7 separate regions of the Homo sapiens genome follow, and regions 2, 3, 4, 5, 6 and 7 are each linked to region 1. The links are contacts of gene promoters, found by promoter capture Hi-C in blood cells and fetal thymus (Javierre and others, 2016). All regions are on one chromosome and are shown on one strand. The core of a region is centred on a gene start or on the middle of the fragment in contact, and the rest is flanking DNA. Distances in the headings are between cores, read along the strand shown. Region 1 holds the start of NUP107 (nucleoporin 107). Region 2 has its middle 16 kb from the start of IFNG. Region 3 overlaps IL26 (interleukin 26). Region 4 has its middle 11 kb from the start of IL22. Region 5 has its middle 28 kb from the start of IL22. Region 6 overlaps MDM1 (Mdm1 nuclear protein). Region 7 overlaps MDM1 (Mdm1 nuclear protein).

Region 1 (3,507 bases), core at 737-3,236:
TCCTAAAGTAGTATAATCAAGCTTATATAAGTGAAACGAGAATATAGCATTTATAAAGAATTTTATCATCACAGTTGGAGTAAAGGACCCTGAGTAAGTTAAGGTATAGTCATTCTAGTAGCCAAGTCTTAGATCTTTTGTTGAGAACGCACTCCTGGCTCCAAATCCTGCTTATTCTTCAAAGCCTTACTCAAATCTTACCTGCACAAAGACTTCTCTGACTTTCTAGTACTCACTATGTTATTTTCTCCTAAGGAATTATTTCAACACTTGGAATCTATATTATAACACTGTTTTAGATAATTGCTTCATGAAAGTGAATCTTATTTCCCTTGTTGGATTGAGGAGTTACCTAACTGCAGGAATTCTCTCTTAAAAGATTTTCTGCAGTCTCCAAAATGCTTTAAACCATGGGTACTATTAAAAAACAAACAAACAACAACAACAACAAACAGAGCTTGCAACAACAACAACAAACAGAGCTTGTGAGATAGAAGGGTAAGTAAAAGAATTGTGGTAAATTGGAGCAAAATGACCCTTCAAGTTATTTCAACCCAGGAGGTCTCCTGTCCCATCACAACACTCCCTGTCAGTTTCACTCAAAGGTCTAGAAACTAAATTGTGCGGACTAAAAGGCCTGTGTTTAAGACAAGAATCTAATATGCTTTTCCTCCACTTAAAACCTTCAGATATTCCTTCAGCAGGAAAGTATGGGAAACAACCACATAGAAACAATTTTAAACGTTTAACAATTAAAATTAAAAACAAAAAAAAAAACCTTCAGATAGCTCTCTGGTCTATAGAAGTAAAAATTTCCTAAAATGATATTTACAATGTGACCCCAGTTTAGGGGTTCAGTCTTCTATTCAGCCACAAACATCACTTTAAACGTATACTGCATGTGACCACTGAGCTACACGTACTTTTTTTTCATATCCTAGCACCTCTGAATATGCTTCTTTTACAAAGACCTACATTTGCCCCCTTGAGCACCTGGTCAACAACTACTTACTCCTCAAAGAGCCTCAGGTAGGCTGGAGACACACAGATGCAGGTTGGCAATTTGGTTCTTGTATTTATTAGCTTCCGAACTTTCAGCAAGTTCCTTAACCTCTTTTAGTCTCAGTGTTATATATGAAAAAAGGATAACAGTACCCATCTCATAGGATTTTTCTTGTTCTGAAGATTAAATAAGCTAATAATATATATTCAACGCCTTTAGAACAATGGCAGTCACATAGTAGGTACTCAATGTTTGGAGTACGAATAATGTACTCTTATTATTCAAAGACCAGCTAGAAAGTTACCTTCTTTGAGGGGTCTTCCTGATAGTTACAGTGACAAGGAGACTTAATCGCCCCCAAACACTTACCACTTTACACTGCTTGGTTGTCTCCATTACACAACTAATTCCCCGAGGGGAAGGATCTTGAATAACTGATCTTTGTTGTAGGCGGCTAGCACAGTACCCAGATCATAGAGGGAACTCAGAATCTGATGCTGGCACTTGTAATCAGAAAGTCTGGGCTGAGATCCCAGTATCTTCACTGACTGGCTTTGTGATCTCAGGCTGGTCACTTAGCATTTCGAACGCCGCGCTACCTACCCCGCCCACCCCAGGAGCGAACAGTGTTGCTGCCCCAAAGCGCCGAATAGATCGCAGAACGTAGTGGGAAAGTAAGGGACTATTATGATCTGTACCCCACCCCGACGCACGCCAAGCGGCTTTTTCCCCATTTGTGGCCAAATTTCCCGGCATGGGGAAGGAGCCTTAGGGGAAGCACCCGGGACCTCCTTGGCTTCTTCTGGGAGTCTAGTTTCACCTATTTCGTTTCGCCAACAGGCGAGACGGGCAAGACTTCGGGCTCAGCTGCCACCATCAGTACTGACCTGTCCATGGCTAAAGCCTTTTCCACACACAACCAAAGTTGGCTGCAGTTTAGCTACCGCGTTTTAGCCTTCCCGCTCTCCGGAAGCAAGCCCTTCGACCCGGAAGCAGTCTGTCCCTAAAACAGACCCACAGAAAAGGGGTAGGGGAGAAGAAACAACGTTCCCATCTAGCGCATGCGCGACTTCAGCCTACAGGTGCACGCCCGGTGGGCGCAGGCGCAAAAGTTTGCCAATGTGTTCCTGGTTGCGTTTAGCCCAGACGCCCTGCGGCCGCTTTGCCTGACCAAAGTCTGTGGGCGTGGAACAGGCCCTGGGTTCTCCTACTGGGAAGAATGAAGTATGTTGATAGTCTGGAAAAATGTGAAGTCATTTCCTGGTATTCTCTGTCAGAAAGCGCCTGTTCTTGGAATTCAGATGCGTGGGCTCTGCCCCACACCTCGGGGATCTCTATCTCTCTGCCTACACTCAGTCCTTTGTTCTGTAGCCCCCTGCAGTTTTTGCAACTATTTTCCATAACTGCTATTTGTTCTTTACTTGGTGTTCTTTCCTATTAAGGAGAAAAAGTTCACCTGTATTAAAAAGTAGAAAGGCAAGCGTGAAATATGATGGTATTGCCCTCTATTTCAAAGTGCCGTCTAGGCAAAAAGTGGTGTATTTTGGTCTTGAAGGAGTCAGTCACATTTTTGTTTTGGTTTTTGTTTTTTCCAGTTTGAAAGTAGTGACTGGCTATTAACTGACCAGATTACAAAAATAATGTTAGATGCTTCAGTTTATCCGTTTAATAAGCCTGTTGATATAGTCTTTTCTGTTGCTGGCATTTATACCTTTTATTAATACAAAATAGGTAGTCCTTCATTCTCCCTCGTGGAGAAGATAATTTGAAGGATCACAGGAACTTGAGTTTTTCAACAGCATAGATCTCATGAATCAGATTCTCCAGTCAGATGATGCCATATTTATCAGGAAATCTAGCAATCAAAGCGTTATCTGTTAAGGTAATTTGTTTATTGATTTTGCCATAACCAATTTGTAGATCAGTTCATTTACTGATTTCAGGTTCAGGTACTCCATGTGATATATGGTTCCACAATCCTCAGCGTGTTAACTGAAGCCTTGTTGAGTTTAACAAAGCTGCCATTGAAGATCTGGGGAAAGTGAAGAAGTTGCAACAGAGTTTTGGGCTCACACCATTGATACATTTGATCCTTAAGGCAAGTGACAATTTGGGTTTCACAGGTATATAGAAATTGCCAGCTTTTCTTGCCATATATTTCTTGTGACAGTGCTGAGCTTTTTTTTTTTACTTCTTGCTTGCTTTTTTTTGGACTTGATTTTTTAAATTATGTTTCCTTCCTTCCTTCTTTCTTTGTTTTTTTTTTTTTTGAGACAGGATCTTGTCCTATTGTCCCGGCTTACGTGCAGTGGCACAGTCACGGCTCACTGCAGCCTTGACCTCCTGGGCTCCAGCAATCCTCCTACCTCAGCCTCCCTAGTACCTGAGGTTGCTGGGACCACAGGCACGCACCACCATGCCTGACCTCCTCTCCTCCCCCGTTTTTTAAAAATATTTTGGAGAAATGGGGTCTTATGTTGTTGCCCAGGCTGGTCTCAAACTCT
Region 2 (3,507 bases), core at 559-3,058, 510 kb after region 1:
GCTAGGGGTTTAATGCCCTGGGAGCAGTGCTCAGACAGTGCTAAAGATAGTCGCAGGATAGATACCCCAACTTCTTCGTCCCTTGGGCAGGATAACTTTGGGGTATGGGCTACACCATCACCCAGAGGTCTATAGTGGGCTGAGTCTCAGTTGACTACAGTAGCTCCCTTTGGGAACCACCCTGAACTGACTTCCTTCCCTTCCCTGAATCTCTTTGCCTCTTTTCTACTGGTGCTTCCTAGAATCACCACCAAAAAAAAAAAAAAAAAAAAAAAATCCTTGTCTCAAGCTCTGTTTCTGAGGTAACCCAACCTCAGTTTCTATATGTAAAATATTTCAATTTAACCTGAACAAATACGTTAAACATGAAGAAATGTACAAATACAACTTCTAAATCAGGTTACAAGGGAAAAAAACCCATAAAATGGAAATAAAAATGATGAGCACACATTGTGCTTGCTATATGCCAAGTATTATTCCAAGAGCTGCACATATAACTCATTTGAATCCCACAAAAAACCTGTGAAGTAGAGTCCAGAGACTTTAAGGAGCTTGCCTAGATTCACACAGTTTACACAGCTGGTAAAAGATGGAGCCTGGACTCAAACTCAGTCTTGCTCCTTTGTCTGTGCTGTTTGTTAACCATGATACTATCATAGAGATGTTTTAAAAAGGTGATTTATTAGTAATGACATGATATCATGAAAGTATTATGCCCAGTTATGTTGTTTATATGAATAGTGCAGAAAACGAATAACATTTGTTGTCATTATAATCTCAAAGAAGACAGGATCCTCATATAAACAGGAGCAGTTATGAGATAAACACATTTTTAAAAAATCCCTTTAAATGGATGTCAGTTCATGAAAGTGATTTGTCATTAATGTCCAACAGTGAATGACTATGAACAGCAGCTTTTGAGATTGGCAGTAACACAGCTTTTAGGAAAACAGAGGGCAGGCATAGTTTAAAGCTAACATCAGCATGTGTAATGAGGTATCATCCTATTCCCTATGTGGCTTGGGCACTAACTTGCAGCTGAAGAATAGAGATCTGTTTGGGCTTGCAGCCCTGGCTAAATGGCCCTGCTGGTTCCACCCCCCAGGTCTGATGGTCAAGAATTATTGGATACTTCATGTAAAGCACTCAGCCAGGCACTTTGAGATAGATGAAGAAGACTAAGAGGCAGTGTATACTCTCTAGGACCTTAAAACCTAGTGAGGAAGAAAAGCACATGAGGATAACTTGGACTTTTTTTCTTCTATGAGAAAAACATCTGGTAAGGTTATTCAGACCACTCAGCTTCATATGGATTTATAGATGTTGGTGCAATTTTTACTCCTTGGCTTCAGCTATTGAAGCTGTGGCAGCAGGTGTGATTACCTCAGAAGAGCGAAGGTGCAAAACAAACTCTTGAGGTCTTGGGAGCTCTGCAGGTGGTTTCCTTGCAGTTCTTCAAATAAAAGGAAGTCTAAGAGCTTCCTGACTCTGTGATAGAGAATGCTACCATGCAAGGCCATCACTTGAAGCCTTTGCTCTTTGCAGAGGCAGAAGCGTCCCTGAGTGCATTGAGACGCTGGGCTGAAGAGAGGAATGACATCAGCACCAGGTGGGGGAGAAGAGCGATTTCCTTTTTTCTCAGGGTGACCCACAGGAAGGACATGGGAAGTTAGGTCAGAATTGGCTTGACACCTCTGTCCTGGGAAATCCTATCAGGTGACTAAGAAGAAAACAACCCACCAAGTTACTGCTCTTTGCCGAGAGATGGAAGGCACCTTGGGGGAAACCCCTGACCACAGGCCAATAGAACAGAATGTTGTTAGTCTTGCTGAAAAAGCCAACCAGAAAAATACTTCTTCAAATTCACCTGGGGTGACAAGAAATATTTCCCATTCTTGGGTTCTTTCACTTTCCTAATGGAAGCATAGATTGAACACTTTGTGAAATGTCATTTAGATTTTCCCTCTTGTGATTGGCTTTATTTTTCTTTTTAGGAAAAAAAAGACAGAGTGCAGGGCATACTTTTTTTGTGGTTGATAGGATTCCTAATGCAACCATAAATATGACCAGCATATAAGTCATGATCTATGATTCTAATTAGCAAATGATGTTTCTAATTTTCAAATAGGACAAGTTATATATCATTAAGTTTTGGGATGCCTAATCTTTTTTATTCCATCAATTTTTATTTTAAGTTCTGGGGTACACGCACAGGATGTACAGGTTTGTTACATAGGTAAATGTGTGCTATGCTGATTTGCTGCACAGATCAACCCATCACCTAGATATTAAGCCCAGCATCCATTTGCTATTCTTCCTGATGCTCTTCCTCACCCCACTTCCCCAACAGGCCTCAGTGCGTATTGTTCCCCCCATGTGTCCATGTGATCTCATCGTTCAGCTTCCACTTGTGAGTGAGAACATGTGGTGTTTGGTTTTCTGCTCCTGTGTTAGTTTGCTGAGGATAACAGCTTACAGTTCCATCCATGTTCTTGCAAAGGACATGATCTCATTCCTTTTTATGGCTGCATAGTATTCCATGGTGTATATTTATACCACATTTTCTTTATCCAGTCTATCATTGATGGGCATGTGGGTTGATTCCATGTCTTTGTTATTTTGAATAGTGCTACAATGAACATATGTGTGCATGTGTTTTTATAATAGAACGATTTATATTCCTTTGGGTATACACCCAATAATGGGATTGCTGGTTCAAATGGTATTTCTGTTTCTAAATCTTTGAGGAATTGCTACACTGTCTTCCACAATGGTTGAACTAATTTACATTCCCACTAACCATCTAAAAGCATTCCTTTTTCTCTGCAACCTCACCAGCATCATTTTTTCTTGACTTTTTAATAATCACCATTCTGACCGGTATGAGATGGTATCTGATTATTATTTTGATTTACGTTTCTCTAATGACCAGTAATGTTGAGCTTTTTTCATGTTTGTTGGCTGCATGCATGTCTTCTTTTGAGAAGTGTCTGTTCATATCCTTTGCCTACTTTTTAATGGGGTTGAGTTTTTTTTTAATGTAAATTTGTTTAACTTCTTTGTAGACTCTGGATATCAGACCTTTATCAGATGGCTAGATTGCAAAAATTTTCTCTCATTCTATAGGATGTCTGTTCACTCTGATGATAGTTTCTTTTGCTGTGCAGAAGCTCTTTATTTTAATTAGATCCCATTTGTCAATTTTTGCTTATGTTGCAATTGCTTTTGGTGTTTTTGTCATAAAATCTTTGTCCATGCCTATCTTCTGAATGGCATTGCCTGGATTTTCTTCTAGGGTTTTTATAGTTTTGGGTTTCACATTTAAGTCTTTTATCCATCTTGAGTTAATTTTTGTATAAGGTTTAAGGAAGGGTCCAGTTTCAATTTTCTGCATATGGCTAGCCTATTCTCCCAGCACCATTTGTTAAATAGGGAATATGTTCCCCCTTGCTTGTTCTTGTCAGATGAGATGGTTGGGGATGCCAAATCTTAATTAAAGAAACTGAC
Region 3 (3,507 bases), core at 579-3,078, 470 kb after region 1:
TACATTTCACAATCTTTGCTATGTTGTGCTTTCATGTTTATTTGCTTTAAATTACTTGCTAATTTCCCTTTTTATTTTTTCTTTTATATATGGGTTATTAGAAGAGTGTTATTTAGTTTTTATATGTGGGAATTTTTCTAGATACTTTTCTAATTTTGATTTCTAATTTGATATCATTTTGGCCAGAGACCATACTTTGTATGACTTGAATCCCTTTATATTTGCTGATCCATGTTTCATAACCCAGAATTTGGTCTATTTTGGTAAATGTTCTATGTATATTTGAAAAGAATATGTATTCTGCCATTGTTGGGCTGAGTATTTTATACATTTCAATTAGATTTAGTTGTGACAGCTTTTTACTTTTTCTCTCTCTTTATTAACTTTTTTCTACTTGTTTTATCAATTATTGGTATCTCTGACATTAATTGTGAACTTCTGTTGCTTCTTGAAGTTCTATCAGATATTGCTTCATGTATTTTGAATTTCTGTTATTAGGTACAGAAATGTTTATGATTGTTATATTCTCTTGATGAATTGACACATTTATCATTATAAAATTACCCTTATTGTCCCTAATAATATTCTTTGTCCTGAAATCCACTTCTTTTTTGATGCTAATAGAATCACTCCAGCTTTCTTTTGATTGATGTTAGTGTGCTATGTCTTTTTCCATCCTTTTACTCATAACATATTCGTGCCTTTTATTTTTCTCATTATTACTTGTTTTAAGCAATTTGATTATGATGTGAATTGATGTAGTTTTCTTCAGGCTTCTTGTGCTTGGAGTTGATTGGGAATCTTGTATTTGTGAGTATATAGTTTTCATCAAATTTGAAATTGTTCAGCATTATTTATTCAAAAACTTTTTTCTGTATCTCCTTCTGTCTCTTCTCCTCTTGGAATGCTAATTACACATATATTAGCCCATTTGTAGTTGTCCCACAGCTCACTGATTCTGTGGGTTGTTTTTTCCCAGTCTTTTCTGTGTTTCATTGTGAATAGTTTCTATTGCTACATCTTCAAGATCACTAATCGTTTCTTTTGTAGTGCCTATCTGTTAGTCCCATTCAGAATATTTTTCACCTCATACATTGTAGTTTTTATCTCTAGAAGTTTGAATTGAGTCTTTTTAATATTTTCCATTGCTCTATTGAACATGATCAGTCTTTCTCTAACTTCTAGAACATATGGAATAGAGTTATAGCAACTTTTAAAATATCCTTATTGATTAATTGTAACATTTGTGTCCACTCTGGGTTGGTTTCAATTGATTGATTTTTTTCCCTCGTTATGGGTCATATTTTACAGCATCTTTGCACGGCTGGTAATTTTGATCAAATGTCAAATATTATGAATTTTACCTTGTTGGATCCTAGACATTTTTATATTTCTGTAAATATTCTTGAGTTTTCTTCTGGGACACAGTTAAATTAGTTGCAAACAGTTTGATCTTTTCAGATCTTGTTGTTTAAGCTTTGTTAGGCAGGACCAAAGTATTGTTTAGTCTAGTGCTGTTTTTGCCACTCATTGAAGCAACACATTTCTGTAAACTCTACCATATTTCCTATGATTTTGCTTTCCTTTCTTCTTTTCCTTCTCTTCCTCCTTTTTGAAATGTATTTGTTCAGGACATTCGGCCATTTGTCTCACAGAGTTTCTCATAGTCTGTATTTTCTGACTGCATTTTCATAGTGTCATTTAATATATTCTCCTCTTTATTTACCATACATTAACAATTATACAGAGAGACTTGATCAGATTTAGCTTGATGTTTTAGCTAGAACACTTTATAGGTAGCATTGTTTGCTTTCACTGGGTCACATGATGTATGATCTTTATTTTTACGATGATAACAACCCCTGACAATTATTGTCTAGATCCGTTAATTCATAAGGCACTACAAAATAATAATTTTTAAATTCTATTTTATCTTCTTTACTCATAAGCTGGGATAATTCAATAAATAGAATCTACTCCTATTTGGATGTTCTGAGGAACTTATCATATAAGAAAGCCAGGTTAAATACTTAATTATCTTCCTTTATTTGCTAGCTTTCAACATAAGTGGTTGGTTTTCTGATTTTCTCCCATAATGACCAATGAATTATTAATTTTGTTGTCATTTTCTCTGTTTCATTATTAACTCATGAAATTATTTCTTATTTTTGTGAAGCTTATCTGATTTCTCTAAGGTACCTGCCTTTTGGGCTTCCTTGCAAGTCCGTTTTCTTGAGCCACTCTTAAGATAAAACAGCATGACAAATTATCATGATAGACTCCAAGGACTGGAATTCCCAGTACCACTGTATTTGGACATCCTCTCATTGCTTCTGGTGACATTCTAAGCATTTTGCAGCACCTAATAAAATATATTTTCCAATTAGTTTGATTTGGGTAAGTCAGATAGTATAATTGTTCAAAAAATAAGTTATGTGTAATGTAAACTTCTTTATGTTTATACTCTTTCCTAGCCATAATATTTGGAAAATTGTTTATGTAAGAAGACATTTTAGAGATTCTTACAGAACTCAAATACTCTCAGACTTGAAAGAGAATTTAGCAGTCACCTTATTGGATTCATAAAATAATTTACCTAATTGCTAGTGATCAAAATAGAAATGAAAATAATTTCTGTTAGTTTTTAAGATTTCATCGTCTACTTTAATTAACATTTTGAGAGCCTGAACAGTAATTGGTATTTAGAGAGACACATTTCTTCATGTCGGTTGCATGTAATTAATTTTAAAGTCTGGCAAAAATTGGCAAACAGAATATTGTGTTTCCATTTTTTGTAGACTGTTTAATAAGTAACTTGTATCATCAATTGCAAATAGCTTATCAACTTGTAAAATAATACCATTCATTCATCCCTGTAATTTAAAATTGTAAAAATTGCAACTGGTTGAACTGATAAAGCAAGAGTGAGACCAATCCTGTCTTATTCTTTTATCAGCTGCAAAGTCTAAAACCTGTGTCTTCAATAACAGTAGCCTCATCTTAAGGTCGTTGGGAGAATTAAGTACCTAGCATGTAGTAGTTCTGCAGAATTGTTAGTGCTTCCTTTATTGCTTTTCATGCACAGAACATTAATTTTTATTCCAATTACATTTTCTCAACAATTTACGAAGGAGTGGTTCTCTTAAGTAATCAGATACTTTTTTAGTGCTTAAAATTAGTATTATATTGTATAATGTGTATAATTTATAGTAGTAGCTTATTTATTTTTTTATGAGACGGAGTCTTGCTGTGTTGTCAGGCTGGAGTGCAGTGGTGCAATCTTGGCTCACTGCAACCTCCACCTCCTGGGTTCAAGCGATTCCCCTGCCTCAGCCTCCTGTGTAGTTGGGACTACAGGCGTGTGCCAGCATGCCTGGCTAATTTTTTGTATTTTAGTAGAGATGGGGTTTCACCATGTTGGCCAGGATGGTCTCGATCTTCTGACCTTGTGATCCATCCACCTCAGCCTCCCAAAGTGCTGGGATTACAGGCGTGAGCCACCACGCC
Region 4 (3,507 bases), core at 258-2,757, 440 kb after region 1:
TTCAAGTGATTCTCCCACCTCAGCCTCCTGAGTAGCTGGGACTACAGTCGCCTGCCACCATGCCCGGCTAATTTTTATATTTTTAATAGAAACAAGATTTCACCATGTTGGCCAGGCTGGTCTTGAACTCCTGGCCTCAAGTGATCAGCCCGCCTCAGCCTCCCAAAGTGCTGGGTTTACAGGTGTCAGGGCCGAAATTTCTTTATACTTGTCCTAGTAATGTTATTTACCCCTAAACCACAACATTGATGTGCTAAGATACTAGGTATTTGTTTAACTGTTTTTCTCATACTCTTTGCAGCCCTTCTTCTTTTCTAAGTTTACTATATATTGTCATTTTCCTTAAATATGGCTCTGTTTTGTTGGTGTCTATCATGGCTAACTATTGCCTCAATGGCTGCAACCAGGCACCTGCTCTACCCAGTAATATCTCAGGTTACTAACATACCACATCGTACTAACTGCTGGATATGCCCACATAGGCAGGCAGTCGAGAATAACATTACATTCCTAGCCATCCCACTCTCTAGAGAAGAAATGGCTACCATGCAAGCCCAATACTTGATACTCTGGATTTGACTACACTATGTACACGTACACCAAAAACACAGGTATAGGGGGGGCACCTAGGCCAATTGATCTCTCATGGCAATCATCCACTGTAACCCAGTGAATAGGGAAGGCACCAGAAATGGCCTGTAAAGTGAGACTTCAGAAACTCAGAAGGGCCTGGCCCTTTCCTAGGGGCTTTAACACAAGCCCATTGTAATTACACCTTCAACTATAAAGAGACACACCAGGAATGGGAGCTGTATGATGACTGATGAGTTCACCGAGGACCTCCACAGGTTTTCTCTATGGTGGGAAAACAACAAAGTTAATGCCAGCAAAATTTAAAATGATTCCTTTATGCCTGTAAATAGTTTAGCAACTGGGATGGAATATATAGGAATAGGGGTTGAAACTGGACAACTTCTTAACCTCACTAATACAGCTTTTCCTCGATTTTCCTTTAACCAATTAATATTTAGAACTCTTATCTGTCAGGCCCCATATTTACACAACACAACAAGTGAAACTTTGACTCCCTTATGTGTGGATAACTACTTTTTCGGTCATTGCCCGTTCACATTTAATCCCCGGGGACCATGAAATCCCCTTATTTATGCAAATTATACTGGAATCCAAACTGATCACGCCTATGCCTGGTTACAAAGTCCCTCCTTGGGAGTTTCATTAAAAGGAATTGGGTTCTTCTTTTTATGGGTATCCATCATGTTTCTAGCCTTGCCTATTAAGTGGATGGGCACCTGTACTACAGCTGCAGCCATACCTGGAGCGCATATATATAACTCCTCGAACTTCATAACCTCTGGCCAAGTTCCAAATTTGGTGTTCTTCCTAAGTGGAGCCCTCTAAAGATCATCAGAAGAAAGAAAACAAAAGTGGAACTTAACCTCCCACCATTTGGCATCCTTGCCACTGATAATCCCATTATGGAGAGAAATGGTCTAGAATATTCTATAGTCAGTGGACTCTTGGTTTGCAGGTATACCCATGCTCAAGCACAGCATTTGTAATCTCACTGATATGGTTTGGCTATGTCCCCACCAAAATCTCATCTTGAATTCCCACATGTTGTGGGAGGGACCCAGTGGGAGGTAATTGAATCATGGGTGCTGTTCTCTTGATAGTAGAATAAGTCTCACAAGATCTGATGGTTTTAAAAAGGGGAGTTTCCCTGCAAAAGCTCTCTTCTCTTGTCTGCTGCCATGTGAGGTGTGCCTTTCACTTTCTGCCATGGTTATAAGGCCTCCACAGCCACATGGAACTGTGAGTCCAATAAACCTCTTTCTTTTGTTAATTGCCCAGTCTGAGGTATCTCTTTATCAGAAGCAGGAAAACAGACTAATACACTCACCATCTTAGTCCAGCAATCTTGGAAACCTAAAGTCACAGCCATTGAGGCCCAGAAACAGGCCCTAATTTCATTGTCAGGGGTTGTCCTGCAGAATCAACATGCTTTAGATGTGCTTACCACCAAGGCAGGAGGCACTTGTGTGCTGTTAAGTGAAACCTGCTGCTTTTACATCAATACTTCAGGTCAAATAGAAGAAAGTTTAAAAAAGGTAAAAGAGAATATCAAGGTATCAGAGGGCCTTCAAAAAAGAGTTCGTCAAGATTTTTTTTTTGGCACAACTATTCAAAATTTCTCCAGCTGGGTTTGGCCATGGGTTGCCCAACTTCTCCCCCCTATAATAATGTTCATATTAGTTTGTTTACTTGCACCACATATTTTTACTGCAATATCTCATGTTGCGTCTTCTAGAATACAATAATCTCAAACCAAAATGTTACTGCAGCGAGGGATATCAGCTTCTAAAAGAACTCCATGACTCTCCTTTGGATGCAGCAGAACAAAATTTTAGGCTGCAAATGCGGTTCCCCCATAGTCTCACAGCAACCCGGCTCAATTTAAGTCCTAACTTAGGGATTTAGACCCATGGAACCTCCTAACTGAGCAGCAATCCTAGGTAGGGCCAACTCTTCACTTCTGGTCAGCAGGAAGCAGTTGGAAGATGAGACCTTCACTCACATGCCAAAGATTTGTCATTCTTGCTCTGTTAGGGGGGGAATGTGAAGTCCTAATTAAGGAAAAGGAGTTAGGCTGGTGGGACTGAGGGAAAGCAAAAAAAGCAAGTAGATAAGCTATAAAGTCTGCTTTTCTTCATGGTCCAGGACATATAGCCCTCCTGTGCCCAGCTTACCACCAGACACCGGCGAGTTAGCTCCCTGCAGCCTTGGCGTTATCAGTACTGCAGGCAGCACTCTTCGGCCCACGTTCCAGTCTACAAAATCCCCAGCAAGCCTTTGTTTCCCGGCAGTTAGCCCGTCTTTTACTAACTTGCCCATTGCACTCTTGCAACATATTATCATACTTTCTCTAATAAATCTGCCTTTCTTTACCTACAACTGTCTTGGTAAGTTCTTTTACCACCTGTACCATGGGCCTCAGATAGTTGCTGCTCACCCATGGCAGGTTCCAAATGCTGAGAGGCACTGATGTTCCCTTTCAGGGATGATAGAATTATAATATTTTTTTTTCTGTGATTAGCTGAGGTTAAGGAGTCTTTCCTTTTCCAAATGAGTCTCCATGTAATGACTAGAGCAAAAGTTGATATCATATTTTTTTTGGCCAGTCTTCTGGAAACTGAGCTATAAGTGGAAGAATATTTACCCCTAAAATTGGAAGGTAAGAAACTGAGAGACTTTATATTCTGATATATTTCAGAAGTAGCTAGAGTCAACCTTGGTTTTTCCTTCCCTAACCCTGCACATTGAATGTGTCAGAAGTCCTGTTTGCTCTAACTCCAAAGTAACGGCTGAATCTGTTCACTTCTCATTCTGGCTAAAGCCCATCCATGCCACTATCATCTGTCCTCTAAATTACCATAGTATTGAAGTTTCTAAAGTTCCTCCTACTGTCTGTTTTTAACTCAGGAGCCA
Region 5 (3,507 bases), core at 495-2,994, 400 kb after region 1:
AGTTGAAATCCAAACTCAGGTCTTTTACCTTCAAAGCCACATTACATTCATCTCTACTGCTTTGGAGAGGTGGATGAGTGGGCACCTCCAGCTTCCTCTGAAATCAGTAGCCAGCTGAGAGTTACATGCCAAAGTTCAACTGACAGCAAGAGATTCTGACTCTAGATCTGAGGAGCCTCATACAATTTTTTTGACATTTGAGGTATAAGTGAAAAATGAAAAGGTTTTCATTAGAGAAGAATAAAGAATACCAAGTTTATTCTAAACACGCAAAGACAGCCATTCAACTATGTCAGTATAAGAATGGTGTCACAGTGGACCCACATATTTATTTTTATTTATAAAAAAACCTTAGTCTAAATTGCATATTACTTTGCTTTTACTAAGCAATTAGAGCTTGGTAAAAATAATTGCACTAGATAGTTAATGCAGCTGTATTTTGGGTATGCCTAGGAGAGCTCAGTTGGCTGTCCCACGGAGCCTGAGGCTGGGGCACCACCAGGCACCTGGTGGCAGCTACATAAATGTCAAAAGTGGTAACCTATGACCGGATGCGGTGGCTCATGTCTGTAATTCCAGCACTTTGGGAGGCCAAGGCGGAAGGACTGCTTGAAGCCCAGGAGTTCAAGACCAGCCTGGGCAACATTTGGAGACCCGCATCTCTACAAATAATGAAAAAAATTGCTGTGCATGGTGGCATGTACTTGTAGTTCTGACTACTCTACCAGGGAGGCTGAGGTGGGAGGATCACTTGAGCCCAGGAGGTCAAGGCTACAGTGAGCTGTGATGGCGCTCCACTGCACTCTAGCCTGGGCAACAGAGCGAGATCCTGACTAGAAAACAAAAAAAAAGTGGTGACCTAGATGAAAATACCCAGTCTAAGGGGCTAGTCCTTAAAAGTGCAACCTTAAGACATCACACATGAAATTAAGTTGTACTGAGAAAAGTTGCACTTGCTTCTTTGAGACAGCAGGTTTAAATTAAATGAACATTAAATTCAATTATTAAATTGAACCATAAGAAATTGCTATTTTTGGCTGGGTGCAGTGGCTCACGCCTGTAATCCCAGTACTTTGGGAGGCCAAGGTGGGCGGACGCTTGAGGCCAGGAGTTCGAGAACAGCCTGGCCAACATGGTGAAACCCCATCTCTACTAAAAATACAAAAATTAGCTGGATGTGATGGCGCATGCCTGTAATCCCAGCTACTCAGGAGGCTGAGGCACAAGAATCGTTTGAAACCAGGAGGCAGAAGTTGCAGTGAGCCAAGATCAAGCCACTGTACTCCAGCCTGGGTGACAGAGCAAGACTCTGTCTCAAAAAAAAAAGAAAGAAAGAAATTGCTAGTTTTTTGCAGGTAAAAAGTGGTAAAATATCAGCAATTGAGGTGGCTCAAGCTATTGATTAAGTTAAAATTTCAATTCCAGGCTGATTTTTCTTCTTCCCTAAAGAAGGACTGGATAATAATTATAGTAATAGGAGGAGGATTCTTTGTTATCATAGTCCTTACACTTACTGAGCTCATGAGGATCCCACTTCTAGTCTGTTTATATACATTAACTCACTTAGGACCACAATAACCATAAGAAATAAGGACAATTATTATTTGTATTTGACAGATTTATCAGGTTACATGTGGCAGCTTTATTAAATAATATCTGTAGTTTTGGGTGCTTATATTAAGTGTTGTACTAAGTGGCCTTCACAAATAATCTCTTTACCTCTGAGATTCACAAATGACCTCATTACTTCCCATTACTATGATTTTCCTTATCCTTCAGAGGAGGACCCTGAGGTGAGAGGTTCAGAAATTTTCTGAGTTTCACAAAATTAGTAGGGGGCAGAGGAAAAATTTAAAATGAGATTGGTCTACTTCTGGGCCTCAGTGTGTAACTATGAAGTGACTCTGTTTCAGTCTATGCTTTTCTTTCCATCTGGCCTTTCCAAGTCATAGCAGCCTCCCCCATCTTCTTTGATAATTTAGCGAGTTTCACTAAGTACTTGATAACTATCCTTGCATGCACACTGGTTTCATATGTGGCTGATTTTTGAGAATGTGGCATTGCCAAGGTGCTTGTGAAACTAGGCCAATCAAATGTATTGATTCCAATAAAGTTCTTATTAAATTGATTCCTCCTTATATAATTGTGAAATGGCCATAGAAACACCACTAGAGTTAAGCATGCGCAATTTCCTTAAATGGGATTCTCAGATAAGCATCAGCCTCTTAGAGCTTATGATATCTGAGAAAATAACAGCTAAACTCCCCTGCACTGATGTGGCAGTGAAATGATTTCTCTGGTAGTGGCTCATTTCTTAGTTACCAAGTAAAGTATTTACGGAATCTTCCCTTAGGTACAGATATTACGGTTAACATGAACAATGAGATGAGAAAATTGAGGAACCAAGGTGATTACAAAACAGCTAAAGCCAAACTGGCTGTTTGGCACCCACATTGAAAAGATTTTCTGAAGTCTAATGATTTAACTGGTTGTAAAAGATGTGCTGAGTTCAATCAAAGATGTCCAAACTTAGTTTAGATTTTCTTTCACACGGGATTAAATTGCTCTAAGTGGCCTGTTTCCTGCTGTGCGGGGTCCCCCTCCAGGTTTGCATATGAAGAGTAGGTTCTCTTGGGAGACTAGCCTCACTCACATGCACACCTTCACTCACATGGCTCCATCAGGAGCTGTGAAAATGGGGGTTTTACTGTTTAACTTAAAATATGAGTTGAAATGGAAAATAAAATAAAAGGGAGATAGTGCAAGTATCCGATATCCCTCCTTCAAAATGCAACAGGACGCCAAGGCAAGAGGATTGCTCGAGCCCAGGAGTTTGAGACCAGCCTGGGCAACATGGTGAGGCCCCATCTCAAACAAACAAACAAACAAACAAACAAACAACAACAAAACCTTGCAATGATGTGCAGCCTTGATGAGATAGAGAACAGGCTCCCTTTAGTACAGGCCAAATCACATGAATGGTTTCTATTTACTGGGCACTTACTATGTGTCAGACATTGTACCAAATGCCTGAATGAGGATAATCTTATGTACTTTTGCCTATTATTACCTGTATTTTACAGATGAGGAAACTGAGGTTTACAGAAACTGAGTAACTTCGCCAAGTCCATATCCTTCATAAATGGTGTAGTTGGGGCTGCAAGCCATGCCTAACTGGCCTTGGAGACCAGGTATGTTGCTGGTCTTGAGCACCATGGTATATTGCTTCTCATAGAAAATGTAGCCCATACACAGGCAGACTGAATCTGCAAGCTGCAGCCCCTTGACTGTAGAGTCCTGCTTTGTTCAGCTCTCCTGCACAGTATATTCCAGATTCCCCGTCTTGGGTGAGGGATTATAATGGCAGTTTATCTCCAACCACACACCAGTGCTCTCATGTCCTGCCTTCCCTTCAAATATGAAGTCTGCCTGTGATCTCATTCCTGTGTCTGAGCCGATAGAGCTCCTATTCCTGTGTCATTCTGTAAGTAGAGGCTCCTGTCCATC
Region 6 (3,507 bases), core at 533-3,032, 390 kb after region 1:
TTATATGAATCTTTGTGCATTAGATATTTGGTTTGTGGTTTTTAATCCATTCTGCCATTCCATATCTTTTAAATGGAGCATTTAGGCCATTTACGTTCAATGTTAATATTGAGACGTGAGGTACTGTTCTATTCACTGTGTTAGTTGTTACTTAGATACTTTGTTTTTTCCGTTGTGTTGTTTTATAGGCCCTGTGAGTTTTAAGCTTTCAGAGGTTCTGTTTTGTTGCATATCAAGCTTTTGTTTCAAAATTTAGAACTCCTACTTAGCATTTCTTGTAGTGCTGGTCTGGTAGTGACAAATTCCTCAGCATTTGTTTGTCTGAAAAAGACTTTATTTCTCCTTCATTTATGAAACTTAGTTTTGCTAAACTAACAAAATTCTTGGCTGATAGGTGTTCTGTTTAAGGAGGCTAAAGATAGGACCCCAATGCCTTCTGCCTTGTAAGGTTTCTGCTGGGAAGTCTGTTGTTAGTCTAGTTGTTTTTCTTTTGTAAGTTACCTGATGCTTTTTGCCTCACAACTGTTAGAATTCTTTCCTTCATGTTGACTTTAGATAACCTGATGACTATGTGCCTTGGTGATGATCTTTTTGCAATGAAGTTCCTAAGAGTTCATTGAGCTTCTTGTATTTGGATATTTAAATCTCTAGCAAGGCCAGGGAAGTTTTCCTCAATTATTCCCTCAAAGGAATTTTCCAAACTTTTAGCCTTTTCTTCTCCCTCAGTATCACCATTTATTCTTACATTTGGTTGTTTACATAATCCTATATTTCTTGGAGACTTTGTTCATTTCATTTGATTCTTTTTTCTTTATTTTTGTTTGATTGGGTTAATTCGAAAGCCTTGTCTTTGAGCTCTGAAATTCTTTTTTCTGCTTTTTCCTCCCTCTTGGACCTGGCATGCAGCTATCTTCTACTTGTTCTAGTCTATTTTTGAAACTTTCCACTACGTTTTGTATTTCTCTAAGTGTGTTTTTTATTTCCAGATGTTCTGATTGCATTTTCTTTATGATATCTATCTCTCTGGGAAATTTTTCATTCATATCCTGAATTTTTTTTTAATTTCTTTATGTTGGTTTTCACCTTTCTCTGGTAGCTCCTTGAGTAGCTTAATCATCAACCTTCTGAATTTGTTATCTGGTATTTCAAAGATTTCATCTTGGTTTGGATCAGTTACTGGAGAGTGAGTGTGATCTTTTGAGGGTGTTATAGAACCTTGTTTTGTCATATTACTAGAATTACTTTCTGGTTCCTTCTTTTTTGGGTAGACTATTCTAATTGTTCTCAAATTTATTTTTGATTTGACTATGTGTGTTTTTTTTAAAATTTTTTTCCCCTCTTAAGAATGTGACCTTAATGATTATAATTTGTTATAGTTTAATTTGGTTCTTGGTGCTTTTAGGGGTGAAGAGTCTTTATAAGTTCTTTGGTTATAGAGAGTCTTTGTATGATGGCTTCCTCAGTTGCTGGTTGTAGTAGCTGTGTACTCAGTGTGTCGGCAAGTTCGCTGTCTCCTGTGGGGTTGGAATGGCAGAGGTCTCTTGAAGCTTATCTCATTCCCCTGTGGTGTGTACTTTTTCATTTATTTAATTTTTCTCCAGTATTTTGTTTACTGAGTTGATAGTTCAGGCTTCAGGCCATTAGGGGAGGTATCCCTGGGTAGGAACTTACTGTGGCTAAGGTAGGTGGGTGAATGCAATACCCACTGGTGGGCACAGGTCCCAGCCTTGATGAAGGTGGCTGGGGGAGCTCTCAGTTAAATGCAGTGAGGTCTTATCAGGGTGAAGGGTGAGAATGCTATCCAAGTAGATAGGAATTGTGACTCTGCCTCTCATGCAAGCCTGCATCTGGGGAGTGCTCCTCCTGTGGGGAAGCAGTCACCCTAAAGTGTTCCAGGAAGGCTGTCTATAGGCACACTCATACCGAGTCCTGTGGGAGAAGTCCCAGCTGTGTCTGCAGTGGTGGACAAGGGGAAATAAGACCCCTTCTCCAAGACCCTTCATGAGCACTAAGCTTGCCTGACTGTTGGGGTGATGGGGTAGACTCCCTGCTGAGCCTAGCACTGCAATTGTGTCTCTGCTGAAAGAAACTTCCCACCAGTGGAAAGATCTGGGACTCCTGAGATTCCTTGGTTGTAGATAGGCTTAGGGTGCTGGCTTTCTTGCGTGTTGGTTATGATAGTTGTGAACTTGTCACGTAGACAGATTCAGGACCACTGGTCAGCTAGGGTGTTGCAGGCAGTGGTGATAGCTGAGGTCAGGCACTGGTTTTCTGGGCACAGCGTTATTCTACCTAGAGATGATATAATGGACTGTGTCAGTTGGCCTCTAATCAGGAGGTGCTGCTTGCAAAAGAGCACCAGCTGCAGTAGTAGCAGTGGTAATTGAGCTTTCCCTGTGTTGCCCAGGGGAGGTATTCTGGCTTCTCACACCTGGGCAGGGTTATAAAACTCCCAAAAGTTTATGTCGTTTTTGTTAAGCTGTGGAGGGGCACAGCCAGGCAGGGGCTGGGTTAGGTGGGTCTGCTCTTTGACTCTCCACATGCCGTCTGTTAGTTTTTTAAAAAGATTTTTGCTCTTTTTAATTTCTAAGAATTTTTGAACATTGCATATTGCTTTTATACAGCATCCCATTCTTATTTCATGAATGGAATGTTTTATCTCTTTGAAGAGGAAAATGATACATATAATGCCTCTGTTTTGAATACATTACCCCTGCCCACAGTTGAACCTGGTATCCTTCAGTCAAAGTATCTCTGGTAAACTTTTAGAGACGAAACTTCCATGCCTCTTTGGGAAAGAGGGAACTACCCAGCTGTGCAAATTTAAAGGAGGACCTGGCATATTAACTATTTTTGTAAAAACATATTTAGGCAGCTTCCTGGTTCAGTCTTCCCTTCACTCCAACTTTCAGTGGTACTCAGTATGCCCAAACCCAGAGCCATCAGGGGAACAAGTTGGTTGTTTCTTGGTTTCACTCTTCTGCTGGCTTAAACTTCCACTTACTTGGGTATAGTTATACACTCACTGCTCTTCCATTTGCTTTCCATGTTCCAAAAAGTTTCTTGCTGTCTTATTTGCTCCCATTCTCTTTGTCCTATGAGTTTGTTCTTCTTGTAAATGCGTGTATTTAATTTACCATCTCTAATCAGAAGCCTACTACATTTCTTTAAAGTTAGAATAGATCAATATTATCATTGGAAAGAATATTAGGAAGTTATCCATAGTTTGTTTACATGCTTGCTAAGTGCATTATAAATTATGAATGGCCCTTTTATGGTAATTTCTATTAAGATATAAAATTAATTAATAAAATCTTTTTCATTTCTTAAACCTTTACTCACATGTAGGTTTGATAATTAATAAAATTTCTGACAGCCTACTTTTACTAACAGTTTAGTATATAATTGAGATAAGCTGTTCAGTGGCTTTTGAAGGATAATTTATTCTGCCTTTTTTTTTTTAAGTGGGAAAAGCAAGGATGAACAATTTGCAGTTACCTCAACATG
Region 7 (3,507 bases), core at 286-2,785, 370 kb after region 1:
GTCCCGGATATTATCTGGGGCAATGTTCATATATTCACCTTAGTGAAATCAAGTTAAAACTAGGAGCATCGAAAGCACCCGTGATGGAAGAAAGGCAGTGAGTCAGCTAAACTCTTGAGCAGTTTATGACCATCCCAAGTCTTGGCAAAGATCTCCCTGACTGAGGAGTCTGATAGTGGGAGTGAGGAAAAGCAGGACAGAGGCAGAACAGTATGTGTGGCTGGTAAATTGATGTCAGCCGCTGGCCTGTTGTGTTTAGGCGTGACACTAGGTTGAGGTTATGAGAAACTCTTTGTTTTGAAGACTGTGTTTTCTCTGAGATTTCTACGCTTGATCTCAGCCAAAAGGCCGAGCAGCGATTTCTTTAAACTAAGATGAGTTTAGGCATCAGAACTAAACATCTAATTGAGAAGATTGTTAAAACTGAAGTCATAGTAAGATGAGATTCCTTATCCTGCCTTGATGGAAGAGAACATTGTTGTTGTCAATTTAAGATAGACTTTTCAAGGTTTCCTATTATGATATCTTGGTAATGCAGCTTTTTTTGCTTATTAAATACTATAATGGTGGTTGTAAATATTTAAATTAGTGGTATAGTTTGCCTTAATTTCTTTGAGAAAAATAATTCAAAAAGTAAATTGAAGTTGGAAAAGAATAAGAATTTTTAGCTAAGAAGTCAGTGATCATTGATGATAACAGTTTTAGTTGACCAGGTTATAGACATTTAATATGAGCCATGTTTTACTTATATCTCTTGGAAGTCATTTACTATAGGCATCTGATTATGAGGTTCCTAAATATAAGGTACAGTACTCCTTCATTTTCCCACTCCTAACATTTCAGGAAGGAGTGTATTCACACTCCTCACATGCACTCAGACATAAGTGACTTTGTTGTTGGAATATTAACTCACTTTTTGAGTCACATTAGTTTTCGAGTCCATATATCATCTTTATTTCTTTCTATGTTTGAGATATACTTTTTGAATCTGTTTATAGTCTAGTCACTGGAAATTCTATGCCAAGTCCCAGTTACCTCTCATAGAGCATTAGGGTGGTTGGTTTTATTTGCCCAGTGGTTGTGTATTTGTCATCTCCATTATAATAACCACTTGACTATTGCTTTTTAAAATGCTCACTTAAGGGATTGTTTCTTAATAGTCAGCAATTAGAACTTTTTAGGTTCTATCCTCAGAATAACTACTTAATCTATGTTAAACTTCTTTTTTTCTTAATTGTTAGGTAATCTTTTCATCATCGATTGGTTGAGGTGATTTTATTCCAATGTGTCTTCCACAAATAGGACTGTGTTTCAAGATAAAGTCCTGCATTTGAGAGATGTCCTGTAATTTGACAGACATTGTAAAGACTAGGTATAAAGTGACCCCTCATTTTGGGGGGATGGTTTTTGGGTAAAAGGAGTTTTTATCCCCAGTTTCTTGAGTTTGAATTTTCTGCATATGTTTTAAATAATTTAGTTGAACTCTTAATTTGGACAAAGAAATTCAGAAAAGGAAACATTCTACTTATAATTGTATCATAATATATAATATGATAACATTACTTGGCCCAGAAAGGTGTGTGTATGTTGTTGAGTTGGGAATGGTTTATTTCTATCCTTTTTGGTGGCTCTGGCAGTTGGCTATAGGGATTGTTCTATTTAACATTGAGTTCATGCTATTGATTTTTTTCCTCCTCTTTTTAGTAGAACATACTACTTTGGAAAATGTCAGCCTTTTAATTTTTCATCTTAGTTTAGGGCTAAAGATATTTAAAATCATATTTGTAAAATATAATATTAGCACTGAGATTAATAAAGATTGTTGATATAGTAAATTTAAAGCACTTAGTTTTAAATGTCAGTAACAAATAGAACTGAATAAATCAAAGTCTTCAGAATTTTTATGAAGTATACTCTCCCCCTCCTTTCTAAATAAAATTGACGTCAAATAAAACTGGATGACTGTGTACATGGAGGGTATTCATCCATCCTTTCATTCATCATGCATGGATAGATGCAGCTGCCTCTGCTGTCCCTTCCACCCCCACTGCCCCGTCAATCTACCCAACACAGTGCAGGACTGATTGGTCCCCCTTTTGAACTACTCCTTCAACTTACATTTCATTTCATTTGTTTATTATGGCATAGACCCCCATCAATATTATGACAATTTATGTACAGGTTGGCTCACTGAGTGCAGGGAGTTTCTTGCTTATCTTTGGCTGCCATGTTTAGCTCAGGCATACCACTTAGTCTGCACTCAGGACAGGTTGTGGGCTCAGTGCTTAAGTGCTGCGTTTTCCCTCACCTCAAGAAGTTCATAGGTTGATGGAGGAGGAGGGCATGTGCAATTAATTCCAGTAAAATTGAATATGTATTAATGGGGATGTGCCCAAAGAACTCTGAGAACACAGAGGAGGAAGTGATGCTGAGGCATGTAGGTGATGGAGTGGCCCTGAAACATTTGAAGCATGGGGGCACTTACTGGCAATAAAATCTGGAGTATATCGAGGCACTTTATAACAAGGTTCCTGTGCATTCAGAATACCCTGGTTAGAAGTTCAGTAGAGTTAATTCATGTACCTCACTTCTACCTGTTAAATGCAAAAACCACTGCTAGAAATTTTCTTTAAAGGTATAGGAGTTGATAGAAATGATAAATGAACATAGCTTTTTTTTTGGCAGTGAAGAAAATATTTCAAATTATCCTTTAGGAACTTTTTTCAGGTATGGTTCATTAGAGTAGGACTCTGTTGGGATTATATGGTTTCTTATGCCATATAGGTGCTGTCTTTTGCTTTGGCCAATTCCCTAGAGATGTAACACTTTCATCTTTGCATTCAAAATCGTACCTTGTTAAGGAGCTATGTTTCTACAATTGCTTTTACATTGCTGTTTCATTATTTGCTTTTTTTTTTGCCCTGAAAGAAAAGCAATTCTAGAATAAAGATTTTCTGTCTTGATGATTTAAAAAATTAGTGTTTTTTGAGATTAAATAAAGATACTGAACAGAATTTTAAGGGTAAAACTTGAACTTAATTTTTTTTACATTGTGGAATTGTACTTGGAGAAGCCAGCAGGTGGCAGTATGATGTATAAAGTGAAAGGTTTCAAATGGGTATGAAGGCTGCTTTTTTCATCAGAAAATGTTACTTGCATATTAAATAATTCATATCACTTTATTATTCAGCAGAACTTTTTTATCCTGTCCCTTTGTTGAACACATTGCAATTATGATTTTATGGGCTATTATTTTAAATTATATATTTAGTACTTTTTTAAAAAAAAAAAAGTTGAGATTTTGCTGATTCCAAGGGAATATTGAGGAATTTGGAGAGGGAAGCCTCATAACCTCATTCATCTCCCAGTGAGGGCTTCTGTAGCAGTAGTAGCTGTATACAAAGCCATGAAATAAAGCTGGGTTAGGGATTTTTGGCGTGTAAGTACTCTTCCAGAGGTAGGGAAATAGGAATAATAGTTAGATTGCCTAATTTATCTGTCATCAGC

Evidence for each region. Contacts are between HindIII fragments. The CHiCAGO score rates a contact against its expected background, and 5 or more counts as called.
Region 2: a fragment that was not itself captured here is called in contact with the fragment with the promoter of NUP107 in region 1 in 1 of 17 cell types (fetal thymus); the score reaches 5.1 in fetal thymus.
Region 3: a fragment that was not itself captured here is called in contact with the fragment with the promoter of NUP107 in region 1 in 11 of 17 cell types (total CD4 T cells, megakaryocytes, total B cells and 8 more); the score reaches 8.0 in total CD4 T cells.
Region 4: a contact is called between a fragment that was not itself captured here and the fragment with the promoter of NUP107 in region 1, in 3 of 17 cell types (M1 macrophages, M0 macrophages and monocytes). The highest score is 7.4, in M1 macrophages.
Region 5: a contact is called between a fragment that was not itself captured here and the fragment with the promoter of NUP107 in region 1, in 1 of 17 cell types (M1 macrophages). The highest score is 5.1, in M1 macrophages.
Region 6: a fragment that was not itself captured here is called in contact with the fragment with the promoter of NUP107 in region 1 in 2 of 17 cell types (M1 macrophages and megakaryocytes); the score reaches 5.9 in M1 macrophages.
Region 7: a fragment that was not itself captured here is called in contact with the fragment with the promoter of NUP107 in region 1 in 14 of 17 cell types (megakaryocytes, monocytes, naive CD8 T cells and 11 more); the score reaches 9.9 in megakaryocytes.

Annotation. Positions count from the first base shown.
Region 1 is chr12:68,685,457-68,688,963 of GRCh38, reverse strand. It overlaps NUP107 (nucleoporin 107), which reads right to left and starts at 1,986. Exons shown (of 28, transcript NM_020401.4): 1 at 1,891-1,986; 2 at 1-2. The coding sequence starts at 1,898. It overlaps LOC100507250 (a long non-coding RNA gene), which reads left to right and starts at 2,105. Exons shown (of 3, transcript NR_038930.1): 1 at 2,105-2,227; 2 at 2,947-3,101. It also overlaps the pseudogene RPL7P42. The HindIII fragment of the contact is 6,312 bases long and covers 24-3,507 here.
Region 2 is chr12:68,173,960-68,177,466 of GRCh38, reverse strand. No RefSeq gene overlaps it. Among named protein-coding and RNA genes, the nearest start is that of IFNG, 16 kb to the right of the region's middle. RefSeq lists an enhancer at 1,500-1,559. The HindIII fragment of the contact is 8,282 bases long and covers 1-3,507 here.
Region 3 is chr12:68,216,016-68,219,522 of GRCh38, reverse strand. All of the region lies in intron 3 of IL26 (interleukin 26), which reads left to right. Among named protein-coding and RNA genes, the nearest start is that of IL26, 8.0 kb to the left of the region's middle. The HindIII fragment of the contact is 700 bases long and covers 1,479-2,178 here.
Region 4 is chr12:68,241,303-68,244,809 of GRCh38, reverse strand. No RefSeq gene overlaps it. Among named protein-coding and RNA genes, the nearest start is that of IL22, 11 kb to the left of the region's middle. RefSeq lists an enhancer at 3,466-3,507. The HindIII fragment of the contact is 5,664 bases long and covers 1-3,507 here.
Region 5 is chr12:68,280,332-68,283,838 of GRCh38, reverse strand. No RefSeq gene overlaps it. Among named protein-coding and RNA genes, the nearest start is that of IL22, 28 kb to the right of the region's middle. The HindIII fragment of the contact is 8,720 bases long and covers 1-3,507 here.
Region 6 is chr12:68,296,941-68,300,447 of GRCh38, reverse strand. MDM1 (Mdm1 nuclear protein) reads left to right here. Exons shown (of 15, transcript NM_001354969.2): 14 at 3,466-3,507. Among named protein-coding and RNA genes, the nearest start is that of MDM1, 34 kb to the left of the region's middle. The HindIII fragment of the contact is 466 bases long and covers 1,550-2,015 here.
Region 7 is chr12:68,316,821-68,320,327 of GRCh38, reverse strand. All of the region lies in intron 7 of MDM1 (Mdm1 nuclear protein), which reads left to right. Among named protein-coding and RNA genes, the nearest start is that of MDM1, 14 kb to the left of the region's middle. The HindIII fragment of the contact is 5,517 bases long and covers 1-3,507 here.